3 separate regions of the Homo sapiens genome follow, and all the other regions are linked to region 3. The links are contacts of gene promoters, found by promoter capture Hi-C in human tissues and cell types (Jung and others, 2019). All regions are on one chromosome and are shown on one strand. Each heading gives the region's core, a stretch centred on a gene start or on the middle of the fragment in contact. The rest is flanking DNA. Distances are from core to core; before and after follow the strand shown. Region 1 holds the start of CLPX (caseinolytic mitochondrial matrix peptidase chaperone subunit X). Region 2 overlaps SPG21 (SPG21 abhydrolase domain containing, maspardin). Region 3 holds the start of TRIP4 (thyroid hormone receptor interactor 4).

Evidence for each region. The method cuts DNA at HindIII sites, captures the fragments that hold promoters and counts their contacts. A contact is called where the count stands out against the background at its distance.
Region 1: a contact is called between the fragment with the promoter of CLPX here and the fragment with the promoter of TRIP4 in region 3, in 1 of the 25 tissues and cell types used here (dorsolateral prefrontal cortex).
Region 2: a contact is called between a fragment that was not itself captured here and the fragment with the promoter of TRIP4 in region 3, in 1 of the 25 tissues and cell types used here (aorta).

The regions. Positions count from the first base shown.
Region 1 is chr15:65,182,869-65,187,151 of GRCh38, reverse strand. It overlaps CLPX (caseinolytic mitochondrial matrix peptidase chaperone subunit X), which reads left to right and starts at 1,810. Exons shown (of 14, transcript NM_006660.5): 1 at 1,810-2,077. The coding sequence starts at 1,999. RefSeq lists a silencer at 1,562-1,871 and an enhancer at 1,293-2,177. The HindIII fragment of the contact is 6,593 bases long and covers 332-4,283 here.
Region 2 is chr15:64,968,858-64,973,351 of GRCh38, reverse strand. It overlaps SPG21 (SPG21 abhydrolase domain containing, maspardin), which reads left to right. Exons shown (of 9, transcript NM_016630.7): 6 at 3,130-3,238; 7 at 3,990-4,097. Among named protein-coding and RNA genes, the nearest start is that of SPG21, 19 kb to the left of the region's middle. The HindIII fragment of the contact is 8,694 bases long and covers 1-4,494 here.
Region 3 is chr15:64,385,688-64,389,861 of GRCh38, reverse strand. TRIP4 (thyroid hormone receptor interactor 4) reads right to left here and starts at 2,026. Exons shown (of 13, transcript NM_016213.5): 1 at 1,898-2,026. The coding sequence starts at 1,998. It also overlaps a transcript of PCLAF not described here. RefSeq lists enhancers at 1,310-1,810, 1,740-2,229, 1,811-2,311. The HindIII fragment of the contact is 11,205 bases long and covers 1-4,174 here.

The DNA.
Region 1 (4,283 bases), core at 561-3,060, 800 kb before region 3:
AAAAAAAAAAAGACAAAAGAAAAAGTTTTACATAAAATGAAGACATAAAAAGTTATGTGCCTGACTGGGTGCAATGGCTCATGCCTGTAATCCCAGCACTTTGGGAGGCTGAGGCAGGCGGATCACTTGAGGTCAGGGGTTTGAAACTAACACGGCCAACATAGTGAAACTCTGCCTCTACTAAAAATACAAAAATTAACCGGGCATGGTGACGCATGCCTGTAATCCCAGCTACTCAGGAGGCTGAGGCAGGAGAATCACTTGAACCCAGGAGGCAGAGGTTGCAGTGAGCTGAGATGGTGCCACTGCACTTCAGCCTGGGTGACAGATGGAGACTCTGTCTCAAAAAAAAAGTTATGTGCCTTCAGCTATGTAGTTCGCAAAAAGTAAATAACTCAAGGAGTTAACTCCTCCAGTGTAAACTATTTGAGCTGGAAAACTGCACTTGACTTTCTTTTTAAAGCGTCATTAATCTGTCAGAAAACAGCTGAAAGTAGGTGTGATGTGGAAGGGCTGATGTGACCACAAGTATTTGCCATCACTTTCCTGGTGAAGGATCCATTTTCTCACAGGGATAATCTCAGATGGCTCTGGGTTTTTTTTTTTTTTTTTTGAGACGGAGTCTCGCTCTGTCGCCCAGGCTGGAGTGCAATGGCACGATATCGGCTCACTGCAACCTTCGCCTCCTGGGTTCAAGCAATTCTCCCACCTCAGCCTCCTGAGTAGCTGGGATTACAGGAGTACGCCACCACACCTACCTAATTTTTGTATTTTTAGTAGAGATGGGGTTTCACCATGTGGGTCAGGCTGGTCGCAAACTCCTGACCTCGTGATCCACCTGCCTCGGCCTCCCAAAGTGCTGGGATTACAGGTGTGAGCCACCACGCCCAGCCGGCTCTGTGCTTTTGAATTCATAACTTGAGAGGATGGCCTGATAGGAACCTGACCAGAGGTTATCTATGCAGTGCCATCCTTAATCACGGCCGGGTGCGGTGGCTCACGCCTGTAATCCCAGCACTTTGGGAGGGCGAGGCGAGAGGATCACTTGAGCCCAGGAGTTTGAGACCAGCCTGGGCAACATAGGGAGACCTCATCTTTACTAAATTAAAAAAAAGAAAGAAAGAAAAGAAAACCCTCAAGACTTTAAAGCACCCACGGACTAGCAACAGCTAGAAGCTTTATCACCACGAGGCCTGAAAGAACAAGGAGACGGAGCTGTTACCAACTAACAATTGCTGCTCAGGGAACTAACTGACAATACCAACTCCATGTTACAAGTGATGAAACTAAGGAGAATGAGAAGATAAGGAACACAGGATGTGGAATTCCGGGGGAAGAAATTTAGTGAATCTGAAGCATCCAGCGCCTACCAAGGCACTTTAGAGACTTCCCCCTGGAGGGTTAAGCCACCAGCCTCACCTTGACCTTCCCTGCCGCCCACTAAAAGTGACCGGAAGAGCTCGACTATGACGACTCGGGACTACAAGTCCCGGCATGCATCTCTCCGCGTCTATCGCAAAACCTTTCAACTTTAGGATAAAAGGGCTTTTGGCAACCTTGAGCGTCGGGACCTGTAGTCGCCCCAGTTGGGGCTAGACGCTTGCCGTAGGGAACTCATTGGCGCCCAGGGCACCACCCCCTCGCCTTCGCCTCACGTAGCTTCACCAGCTCGCAAACACGGCGCGTGCCCACGCCCTCCGCCCCCTCCCCGGGCCTAGGGCGCAGGCGCGCGCAAGCTCCCCGGGCCCAGTAGGCTGGGGGTGGGGGTAGAAGGAGAAGGAGGGGAAGGGAGGGGGGGGTTGGGTGTCTACTCTGGTGAATAGACGGCTGTGGGGCAGAGAAGCGTGAAGGCCTGGCTGCCGGGCAGGTGAACTCTCCACGGGGTCTAGGGCCCGCGAAAGGGTTCGGAACCGAGTCAGCGCGCCTTGCGGGCAGGATTCACGCCGCTGTGACCCGGAGGTCCTCAGGGGGCGAAGCCCCGGCCTAGGCCTCGCGGAGATGCCCAGCTGCGGTGCTTGTACTTGCGGCGCGGCGGCCGTCCGGCTCATCACCTCCTCACTCGCCTCCGCGCAGAGAGGTAACGAAATAGTGCCACTCCTGAGCCCTCAGCCTGTCGGGGGGGGGGTGGACTGGCCAATGGTTGGGGGCCCCGGGGAGGGCACGAGGCCTGCTGCACCCGGGGAGTGTGAGGGAATGCGCGGCGCTTCGCCCGGCACCCACCACTTTCCCCGTGGAATGGGGCTCTGCCAACCTCTGGAGCAGCCGTTGCTCAAATTGGAAGTAAACTCCTTCCCACGCGCCTGCCTGCACGCTTTCAGGCCTGCTGACTTTGGGGCCGGAATGCGGCCACTTTGTAGAAACCCTGAAAGGCACAAAATGCTCCTGTTATTAAAAAATGTCTCCAGATCCCACTCAGCCCTGCCGGGGACCGCCGCCTGCCATGGCTGCGGCTCTTCTTCCGCAGCCTGGCCGGGATCCCCCTCGGGCCCGTTGGGGGCTCCAGGAGGGGCTCGGCTGAGGATCTGTCCCTACTAGGGTCCCCCAGGACTCGGGGCACCCAGCTGGCCGTCCCGGACGCAAGCCGCGCGATACCCGAGATGTTACTATCACTGTGCGGCCCTGACACTGGGACATAAACAAGGTTCACAATACTTCCCGGCGTCAGGCAAGCCCCGGGGCCCGCAGGACAGCGGCGGGAGAGATGGGGAGAAGTCCCGCAGGAGTTGGTTCGGAAGTACTTGGGTGTTTCAGCAGTCCTTTGCTGGCTTTCCCAACTTGACCGGGAGGTAGTTTCCTAAGAGTGGCGCATGTTGTTTACCTTTTCTTTCTGTTTATCTGAAGCTGTGAAAGAATGGCGCCCCAGCCAAGAGAGTCTGGAAAATAAACTTTTTTTCTCTTCCTCAAATCTGTGGAAGTCAGACCACGAGGCTAGATCCTGTTATAATGACTGACTTCTAGACAAATTCGTTTTATTTTGGCTTATCGGTTTATGACCCTTGGATGGATTTTTAAAAAGGCCCCTTTTATCTAACTTCTAAGCCAATTATAAAATCCTTATTGTTTACTAAATATATCTTCCAGTTTCTTTACTACAGAAGGAAGGATTGAATGAGGTAACGTGGGCAGAAGCATTTTGTAAAATGATATATAAATGTAAGGGAGTAAATTTAATCCTAAATCGATGTTAAGCCTCAACCAGTAGATGTCCCGATTCCAGGAATTCGATTTGCAAACACTTTAAAGTGACATATTTTAATCCATTTATCTGATATATATTAATATTTGTCAAGGGTCCACTGTGTGTCAGGCCTTCTTTTAGTGCTGGAGGTAGAGTGGTGAATAAGTCCTCACCCTCATGTTTAAATCTAGTGGAGTAGACAAAGAATAATACAGTTTCCAGTGGGTGGATGAAGTATGTGTGTGTTCCCTTTGGTCAGGGACGGCTTCTTTGAAAGTGTTACTGATCTCTTGTAGCCAAGAGTCCGTGAACATTTTTGAATCATAGGAGATAGGCAGTTATTTTTTTTTCTTTTCAAAACGACTGTTTTCTTTCTTTTTCTTTTCTTTTCTCCTTCCTTCCTTCCTTCCTTTCCTTCCTTCCTGTCTTTCTTTCCTTTCTGTCTTTCTTTCCATCTACTATCTGTCTTTCTGTCTGTCTTATTTTCTTTCTTTTTTTTTTTTTTTTTTTTTTGAGACAGAGTCTCGCTCTGTCGCTCAGGCTGGAGTGCAGTGGCCAGATCTCAGTTTACTGCAAACTCCGCCTCCTGGGTTCACGCCATTCTCCTGCCTCAGCCTCCCGAGTAGCTGGGACTGCAGGCGCCCGCCACCACGCCTGGCTAATTTTTGTATTTTTAGTAGAGACGGGGTTTCACCGTGTTAGCCAGGATGGTCTCGATCTCCTGATCTTGTGATCCGTCCGCCTCGGCCTCCCAAAGTGCTGGGATTACAGGCGTGAGCCACCGCGCCTGGCCTCTTTTTGTGTGTCTGTCTTGATGGAATCTGCTAAGTTGCCCGGGCTGGAGTGCAGTAGCGCGATCTCGGCTCACTGCAACCTCCGTCTCCTGGGTTCAAGCAATTCTTCTGCCTCAGCCTCCTGAGTAAGCTGGGGTTACAGGCGCGCGCCACCACGCCCCACTAATTTTTATATTTTTAGTAGAGACGGGATTTTGCCATGTTCGTCAGGCTGGACTCCAACTCCTGGACCCCAGGAGATCACCCGCCTTGGCCTCCCAAAGTGCTAGGATTACAGGCTTGAGCCACCGCACCCGGACTAGTATTTCTTT
Region 2 (4,494 bases), core at 144-2,643, 580 kb before region 3:
ATCTATGATGCCATACAGCTGGCTTACTGTGCACTTCTTTCATTGCTGGCAAGGCGAGGCTCTAGCCTTAAAATAAAGCCCAGTGGCCAGGTGTGATGGCTCATGCCGTACTCCCAACACTTTGGGAGGCCAAGACAGGAGGATCACTTCAGGCCAAGAGTTTGAAACCAGCCTGAGCAACATAGTGAGACCCCATCTCTACAAATAACAATAATAATAAATTAGCCAGGTATCATGGTATGCACCTGCAGTCCTAGCTACTCAGGAGGCTGAGGCAGGAGGATCGCTTGAGCCCAAGAGTTCAAGGCTGCAGTGAGCCACAACTGTGCCTCTGTACTCCAGGCTGGGTGACAGAGCAAGACCCTACTTCAAAAAAAAAGCCCAGTGAGTAAACACATCTGTATGATCAGTGTTTTCAAATAATGTATAGGGAAATATCGTTTTCACATCTACTTAAAATTGCACTCTGATATTTTTTAGTTTTTTTTGTTGTTGTTTGTTTTTTTGTTTGTTTGTTTTTGAGATGGAGTCTCGCTCTGTCGCCCAGGCTGGAGTGCAGTGGCACGATCTCAGCTCACTGCAAGCTCTGCCTCCCAGGTTCACGCCATTCTCCTGCCTCAGCCTCCCGAATAGCTGGGACTACAGGCGCCCGCCACCATGCCTGGCTAATTTTTTATGTTTTTAGTAGAGACGGGGTTTCACCGTGTTCACCAGTATGGTCTCGATCTCCTGACCTCGTGATCCGCCCGCCTCAGCCTCCCAAAGTGCTGGGATTACAGGCATGAGCCACTGTGCCCAGCTATTTTTTAGTTTTTCTGATGTTATCTTAGTAATTACTCAGCATTCATGCAACAATTTCTTGTATACATTAGCTACTTTACAAATCCTTCCCGTCCAGATAATGCACTAAATAATGCTCATTATTTTTGGTGATTTTTATTGCTGTTCTAATTGTTAGAATGCCAAGACAGCCCCCATTCAGTTTGTGCTCTGGCACATCAGCTGCTTATTGTCAAATATCTGAGTGCTTACTGTGTGCCACACACTGAGGATCCAGGAGTGAGCAAAGTCAACAGGGTCCACCCCTTACAGAGCGTACTTAGACCTCATCACCTTCAAAAGATAAGAAAGTGATGGGGCTGGGAGAGAACTTAGAAAGTTAACTGGAAGGTGACCTAGTGGTCCTTTTGAGGGAAGCTCAACTTCCAGCAAGGCTGTCCCAGTGGTAATAAGCATCAGAAGGTAGTTTGCACCTCATCTAAGTAATTTTCGTCATAGGTTTACAGAAATTAGTGTTTGCCCTCCATGATGGCTCTTAACAGTTGAAATTAATGGAATAAATATAAACTAAAGATCATATATAGAAATCCGTAAAGATCTGACCAGTCACAGTGGCTCACACCTGTAATCCCAGCACTTTGGGAGGCAGAGGTAAGAGCATTGCTTGAGTCCAGGAGTTCTAGACCAGCCTGGGCAACAGAGCAAGATCCTGTCTCTACAGAAAAAAAATTTTCTTTTTTGAGATGGGAGTCTCGCTCTGTTGCCCAGGCTGGAGTGCAGTGGCACGTTCTCACTGCAGCCTCTGCCCCCCAGGTTCAAGTGATTCTCCTGCCTCAGCCTCCCAAGTAGCTGGGATTACAGGCGCTGGCCACCGCCCCTGGCTAATTTTTGTATTTTTAGTAGAGACGGGGTTTCACCATCTTGGCCAGGCTGGTCTTGAACTCCTGACCTTGTGATCACCCACCTTGGCCTCCCAAAGTTCTGGATTACAGGCATGAGCCATTGCGCCTGGCTCAGTAAATTTTTTTTTTTGGAGACGGAGTCTGGCTCTGTCGCCCAGGCTGGAGTGCCATGGCACGATCTTGGCTCACTGCAAGCTCCATCTCCTGGGTTCACGCCATTCTCCTGCCTCAGCCTCCCGAGTAGCTGGGACTACAGGCGCCCGCCACCAAGCCCGGCTAATTTTTAGTATTTTTAGTGGAGACGGGGTTTCACCGTGTTAGCCAGGATGGTCTCAATCTCCTGACCTCGTGATCTGCCCACCTTGGCCTCCCAAAGTGCTGGGATTACAGGCATGAGCCACCGTGCCTGGCCCCGGCTCCCCCAGCTCAGTAAATTTTTAAAAAATTAGTCAGGCCTGGTGGTACGAGCCCGTAGTCCCAGCTACTCGGGAGGCCAAGGTAGAAGGATCACTTGATAGGAGTTTGAGGCTACAGTGAGCTATGATCACAATACTGCACTTCAGCCTGGGCAACAGAGTGAGACCCTGTCTCTAAAAGTTTTTTTTTAAATTTTTTAATTAAAAAATAAAAAGAGGCCAGGAGTGGCTCACGCCTGTGATCCCAGCACTGTGGGAGGCTGAGGTGGGTGGATCACTTGAGGCCAGGAGTTCACCACCAGTCTGGCCAACATTGCAAAAGCTCATCTTTACTAAAAATACAGAAGTTAGCCGGGCGTGGTGGCATGTGCCTGTAGTCGCAGCTACTCGAAAGGCTGAGGCATGAGAATTGCTTGAGCCCGGGAGGCAGAGGTTGCACCCAGCCGAGATCATGCCACTGTACTTCCAGCATGGGTAACTGACTGAGACTCTGTCTCAAAAAATAATAACAATAATAAATTTAAAAAATAAATCTATAAATATCAATTTGCCTTGAATTAGCCAAGTTGAATCTAATAGTAGCAAATTTGGGGAGGTGCAATAGCTTTCATATTGGTATTTTGAAATCTGTTTTGAAATATCAATCGATAAAAACATAATATCAACCAGAAGGAAAGAATACTTCTCTTAATATTCAGTTTTCCAAAAGAAATAGTTTAATCCTTGGAAATAGGGCCAATTAGAGAAAAAAAACAATCTTGGACTCATCAGAATGTCTATCTCAGTAAAGGTATTTTGAAATATCTCTTATAATTATCCTAAATCCTCAAATAAAAGTTTAATTATATGAAGCCATAACTCTTTGGAAGCTTGGGAAAGTGTGTGTAAAAACTAGATGCTGAGCTCTTTGGAGGAGGGGATTAGGACTTTTTATTTCTAGATCCCAAGCTAATACAAAGCTTTAATGTTGAATGAATATTTGCCATGTGTAGTCTTGGAAGTTTAAATTATAAGGTCTTTGTGTTTTACAGCTTTTGGCTGATGCCTGCATTTATGCTCAAAAAAATAGTTCTTGGAAATTTTTCATCTGGCCCGGTGGACCCTATGATGGCTGATGCCATTGATTTCATGGTAGACAGGGTAAGGATCATGACATTGGGTTGGGGACACATTGTATTGGGAATTTTCACATCTACTTGGTTCCAGAAGATAGATCTGTCTCACAAGTATGTGTAAGAGGTATTTGCTAAGCAGAGTAATACATCTGAGCAGATATTATTGCTGGTAAGGGCTTGCCTACATCAGTGCTTCCCACCAGCTATTCATCAAAATCACTTAGGGGAGCTTTCAAAAATACAGATTGTAAGGCCTCACAGCAGATCATCCATCTGGAATCCCTGGGCATGGGATCTGGGAATCTATTTTTACTTCACACTTTTCCTCTACCCACCAGGTAAATCTGATGAACCAGGTCTGTTGGCTTGCATTTAGGAACTGCTGGGCTAGATGATTTCTCAAATCTCTTTTAAGATCCCTTAAAGGTTTATCTTAAAAAAAAAAAAAAAACAAAAACATATATCTGTCACCTTTGAGCAGTAGGAATTGGCTTGCTGCCCATGGGCACCTGGCTGGAGTAGGCAGTGTAGGCTGAGGGCTGTAGAAGGCCGGGTTTCATTGGTTTGTACCCAGGTTTCCAGAATAGAAAAATGCCACAACCTCCTGAGAAGCCCAGTTCATGGTCTCTCACCTAAGTTGTGGTTCCTCACTGATGACTTTTCTGGCCCCACCACAGATGATACCACCTTTATAAGCACAAATGTTGTCTGTGGATTTAATGTAAATGTGAAAAACAAAATTATTTCAAAAACTTTACCTGTGTTTCTTCCTGCAGCTAGAAAGTTTGGGTCAGAGTGAACTGGCTTCAAGACTTACCTTGAATTGTCAAAATTCTTATGTGGAACCTCATAAAATTCGGGACATACCTGTAACTATTATGGATGTAAGCTTCCTTTTAAGTAAAATAGCTGCTTTACTTTTTAAAATGTGTATGTCAAGATCTCCTATAAAACTATTTGATAACTTTCAATGTACCTCTTCAAATGCTGCCTTGGCTTTTGTTTTTACCCTCCAGCTTTCTCAATTCCAAAATAATCTGTTTATTGCTTATCTTGGATTTCTTTCTGGCAGGAATAACACCATTGAAATCAAAATAGGCCGAGCACAGTGGCTTATGCCTGTAATCCCAGCGCTTTGGGAGGCTGAGGCAGGAGGATTGCTTGAGTCCAAGAGTTCAGGACCAGCCTGGGCAACATAGTGAGACCCTGTCTGTATTTATTAAAAAAAAATAAAAATAAAAATGAATCAAAATAAATTTAAACAAGGGAGTCTACCCATTT
Region 3 (4,174 bases), core at 777-3,276:
GGCATGGTGGTGCGCGCCTGTAATCCCAGCTGCTCGGGCTGAGGAAAGAGAATCGCTTGAACGTGGGAGGCGGAGGTTGCAGCGAGCTGAGATCGCACCACTGCACTCCAGCCTGGGCAACAGAATCTGTCTCAAAAAAAAAAAAAAAAAAAAGTGAAAATTTTGAACTTATATTCGTAAAAAACACTTTTCTGTTTTATATATTGCAAAGTTTCATTATTTCATTTGATAGCATTCCACTGCTTTAAAAAATGTTTGAAAACTACTAAATACTTAATCTGACTGCGTTCAAGCAAGGGTAAAGCCAAACCATAAGATTTCGCTGTTTTGTTTTGTTGTCTATTCTAGTGTTAAAAAAAATCCTTTATCTTGTTGTTTACTTTTTTTATTTCTGTAGAGACAGGGTCTCACTATGTTGCCCAGGGTGGTCTCCAACTCCCAGTCTCAAGCAATCCTCCCACCTCTACCTCCCAAAGTGCTGGGAATAAGGGCTTGAGCCATCTCCTAGGGCCTCAAAAAAATCCATTAAAATAACCTACTTGAACTGTCTCCTTGCCAAAAGTCTATTTTCTCCGAAACTCAGAAACTCATCTTACTTCCTACAAAAGCCCTAGAACAGCAATTTAGGTTTCAACATCAGTGACCAAGGAATCAAATGAAGGAACACTTTCAGTTCTTCGATCAAGTCCCATTTTTGTAGTTTTCTCCCCTGCCTGAACACTTTGGACCGCCACCTCTGTCTATTCCTTAGTTCTCGGGTGAAAGTTATCCTTTCCAATAAACCTTCCGAGTTTTTCAAATCTTAATGAGAATCCTTTATTTTGTGCTCCAACAAGCCCCTTCATTTCCCCAACCTCAGCACTCATCAACGAAGGGGAACCCAACTGTCTTGTCTTTGTTACCCCAGCACCTGGCGTGTAACAGCAGCGCAACAAATGTTCTTCAATCAGTTGAAAGTAGATATTAAGTCATGTACACCATCTCCATTTCATAGGAGTCATAAAGCATGATAAGCTCTACTAATGATTAATCTTATAAATGAAGAAACCAGGGTACAGAGAGAAAAATTAAGTTGTCCTGGGTTCTAAAACAGGTAAACGACAACAGAATATAGAACCTGAGACTCCAGAGTCAGAAGCTATTTGTACTCTACCACGCTGCTTCCACTTAAATTCTAGGTCCTATTGACACAGCTGACCCTGTTGGCTCTACTGACACAACTCAGATTGGGCCGACTAAAATGTTCAGAGTATATCTGGGTGCGGTGGCTCATGCCTGTAATCCCAGCACTTTGGGAGGTCGAGGCGGGCGGATCACTTGAGATCAGGAGCTGGAGACTAGCCTGGCCAACATGGTGAAACACTGACTCTACTAAAAATTTTTAAAAATTAGCCGGGTGTGGTGGTGCGTGCCTGTAATCCCAGCTACTTGGGAGGCTCAGGCAGGTGAATCACCTGAACCCGGAAGGCGGAGGTTGCAGTGAGCCAAGATCGCGCCACCGCACGCCAGCCTGGGCGACAGAGACTCCGTCTCAATAATAACAACAATAATAATAAATAAATAAAAGAGTAAGGGGTTCAAAGTTAGGAAATACAGTTTGACCTGCCCCTTCTCTCTAGAAAGGAAACTGGCTCCTGGGACAGCCTTGCATTTCTAATTATTACAGATTGGGCGTCTTCCCAGGAAAAAAGCCCGACCGGCAGACTGTGGAGCCGGACACCCTATTCCAGAAACTAAACTACAAAGGTGGAGGCCAAAATTCGACGCCTACAGACTACAGACTGCAGCCCCTTTATCACATTTCTCTCTTAACTTTTCAGTCCTCCCCGCTTCCCGGTTCGCTCAGGCAGTGCACATCCCAGAGCTCCTTCCCCGCTTGGACCCGAACTGTTCTCACTGAATGATCTCCTCGCTGACATCCAGGCCGAAAGTCTTCCGCAACTGCTGGGTGCACCAGTGCACCAGCGGCTCCCCGGACACCGCCCCAGCCACCGCCATCTTCCCCAGCCGGAACCAGCTGAGCTGCAAAAGCCCCACGTCCTGCACCGGACTAGTTCCCTTCGCAACACCAACCTCTCTCACGCGGGTTCCGCCAGCTTGCACCGCCCCGCAAGGTCGCACCGCCTCCAGTGCAGATCCCGCCCATCTGTGCGCCTCCTGCTTCTTCCTGCTTTGTTGTCTACTTCCTTGTGCCCTCCGGAGTCGAGCTCTGTCAGTGCATGATTCTTGCCAATCGCTAAACGTAGGACTCGAGGAAGGCCATTGGCAATTCTGCTAAGAAGACAGTGCAAGTGCCTATAAAAACGACAGTTTAGGGGGAAAACAAACCAATACCCGGAAAGCTGAGAGGCCAGCTTTTTAATCGTCATGGTTTTATGTAAAATAAAACAGCACGTGGAAGGTATTGTAAGCGCTGTAAGTTTTTGCTCTGGTGGTGGTTTTAATTTTTTAATTAATTAATTAATTTATTTATTTATTTTGAGACGGAGTCTCGCACTGTCGCCCAGGCTTGAGTGCAGTGGCATGATCTCGGCTCACTGCAAGCTCCGCCTCCCGGGTTCATGCCATTCTCCTGCCTCAGCCTCCCAAGTAGCTGGGACTACAGGCACCCGCCACCACGCCCGGCTAATTTTTTTTGTATTTTTAGTAGCGACGCGGTTTCACGTGTTAACCGGGATGGAGTGTTTATTTTTAATACCCCCTGTAGTCGACTACTAGATTCACACCGCTAAAACTTCTATTTTATTTTTTGAGCCATGTATTTTCCAGGAGAGCCAAGACAACTCAGCAAGCTCGAGGGTAAAAAACAGTAAAACAGGAGTTGGAATTTGGCTTTGAGGACTTTCCACATGAGTTCTCAACCAAAAATGACAGTATTTAAGGGCTGTCTGCAATTCCCTACCCCGCTAAGACAATGGGCTGGGGAAAATTTAGCCAAACTTTTCTGGAGATCATAATGTCTTCCCATTCATTTCTGGCTTTTTGTTGCATTTGCAGGTTAAAAGTTCTTCATTTCTACTAGCCTGTTTAGACTAAGTGGTCACATTAAATTGGCAGCTGTTTTACCTTTTTGCTAGTGTTTTCATTGGCATAAATATTATAATTAAAATCATGAGTGTATTGGCCGGGCGCAGTGTCTCATGCCTGTAATCCCAGCGCTTTGGGAGGCCGAGGCGGGAGGATCACCCGAGCGCACACGGAGACACACACACAAACACACACACACACACACACACACACACTGGGCGTGGTGGCTCATGCCTGTAATGCCAGCACTTTGGGAATCAGAGGCAAGAGGATCACTTGAGCCCAGGAGTTCCGGACCAGTCTGGGCAGCATAAGGAGAATCCTCATCTCTACAAAAATGAAAAAAATTAGCCTGGCATGGTGGCACATGCCTGTAGTCTCAGCTACTTGAAAGGCTGAGGTGGGAGGATCACTTGGGCCTGGAAGGTCAAGCTTGAAGTGAGCCCTGATTGCACTACTGCACTCCAGCCTGGGCGACAGAGCAAGGCCTTTTTACAAAAACAAAACAAAACCTCATAAGTGTATTGATTTACATTCCATTTAGATTGTCGTAGATATCATTAATTTGGAAAGCAGATGATTTTCCAGGGTTTTTTTTTTTAAGAAAAAGTCAAAATACTCTGTGAATGTTTATTAATTGTGGGTACAAGTTTTGTTTCTTTGTAAAACTCCACTACATTTAATAATAATTGTAAGGTATCAAAGTCATTTACCTGTTTATTTATTCAGTCCCTGTGTTAGGGTTCTCCAGAGACAGAACCAATAGGATAGATAACAGATAGATATAGATACAGATCTATGAGGAGATTTATTAGGGAATTGGCTCAGGAAATTATGGAGACTGAAAAGACCCATGACAGGCCATCTGCAAGCAGGAGACCCTGGAATGCTGGTAGCTGGCTCAGTCCAAGTTGTGAAATCTTCAAGTCTCAAGGTGGAGGGCCTGGAGTTCTGATGTCTGGGAGCAGAAGTCTGAGAAGAGTGTCTCAGCTCCAGAAGGAAGAAATATTTTTTCTCACCTTTTTTGTTCTGGGTCCTTGGTTAATTGGATGGTGCCCGCTCACATTGAGAGCAGATCTGCCCCACTCAGTCCACTGACTCACATGCCAGTCTCCTTTGGAAATACCCTCAAAGGCACCCAGAAGCA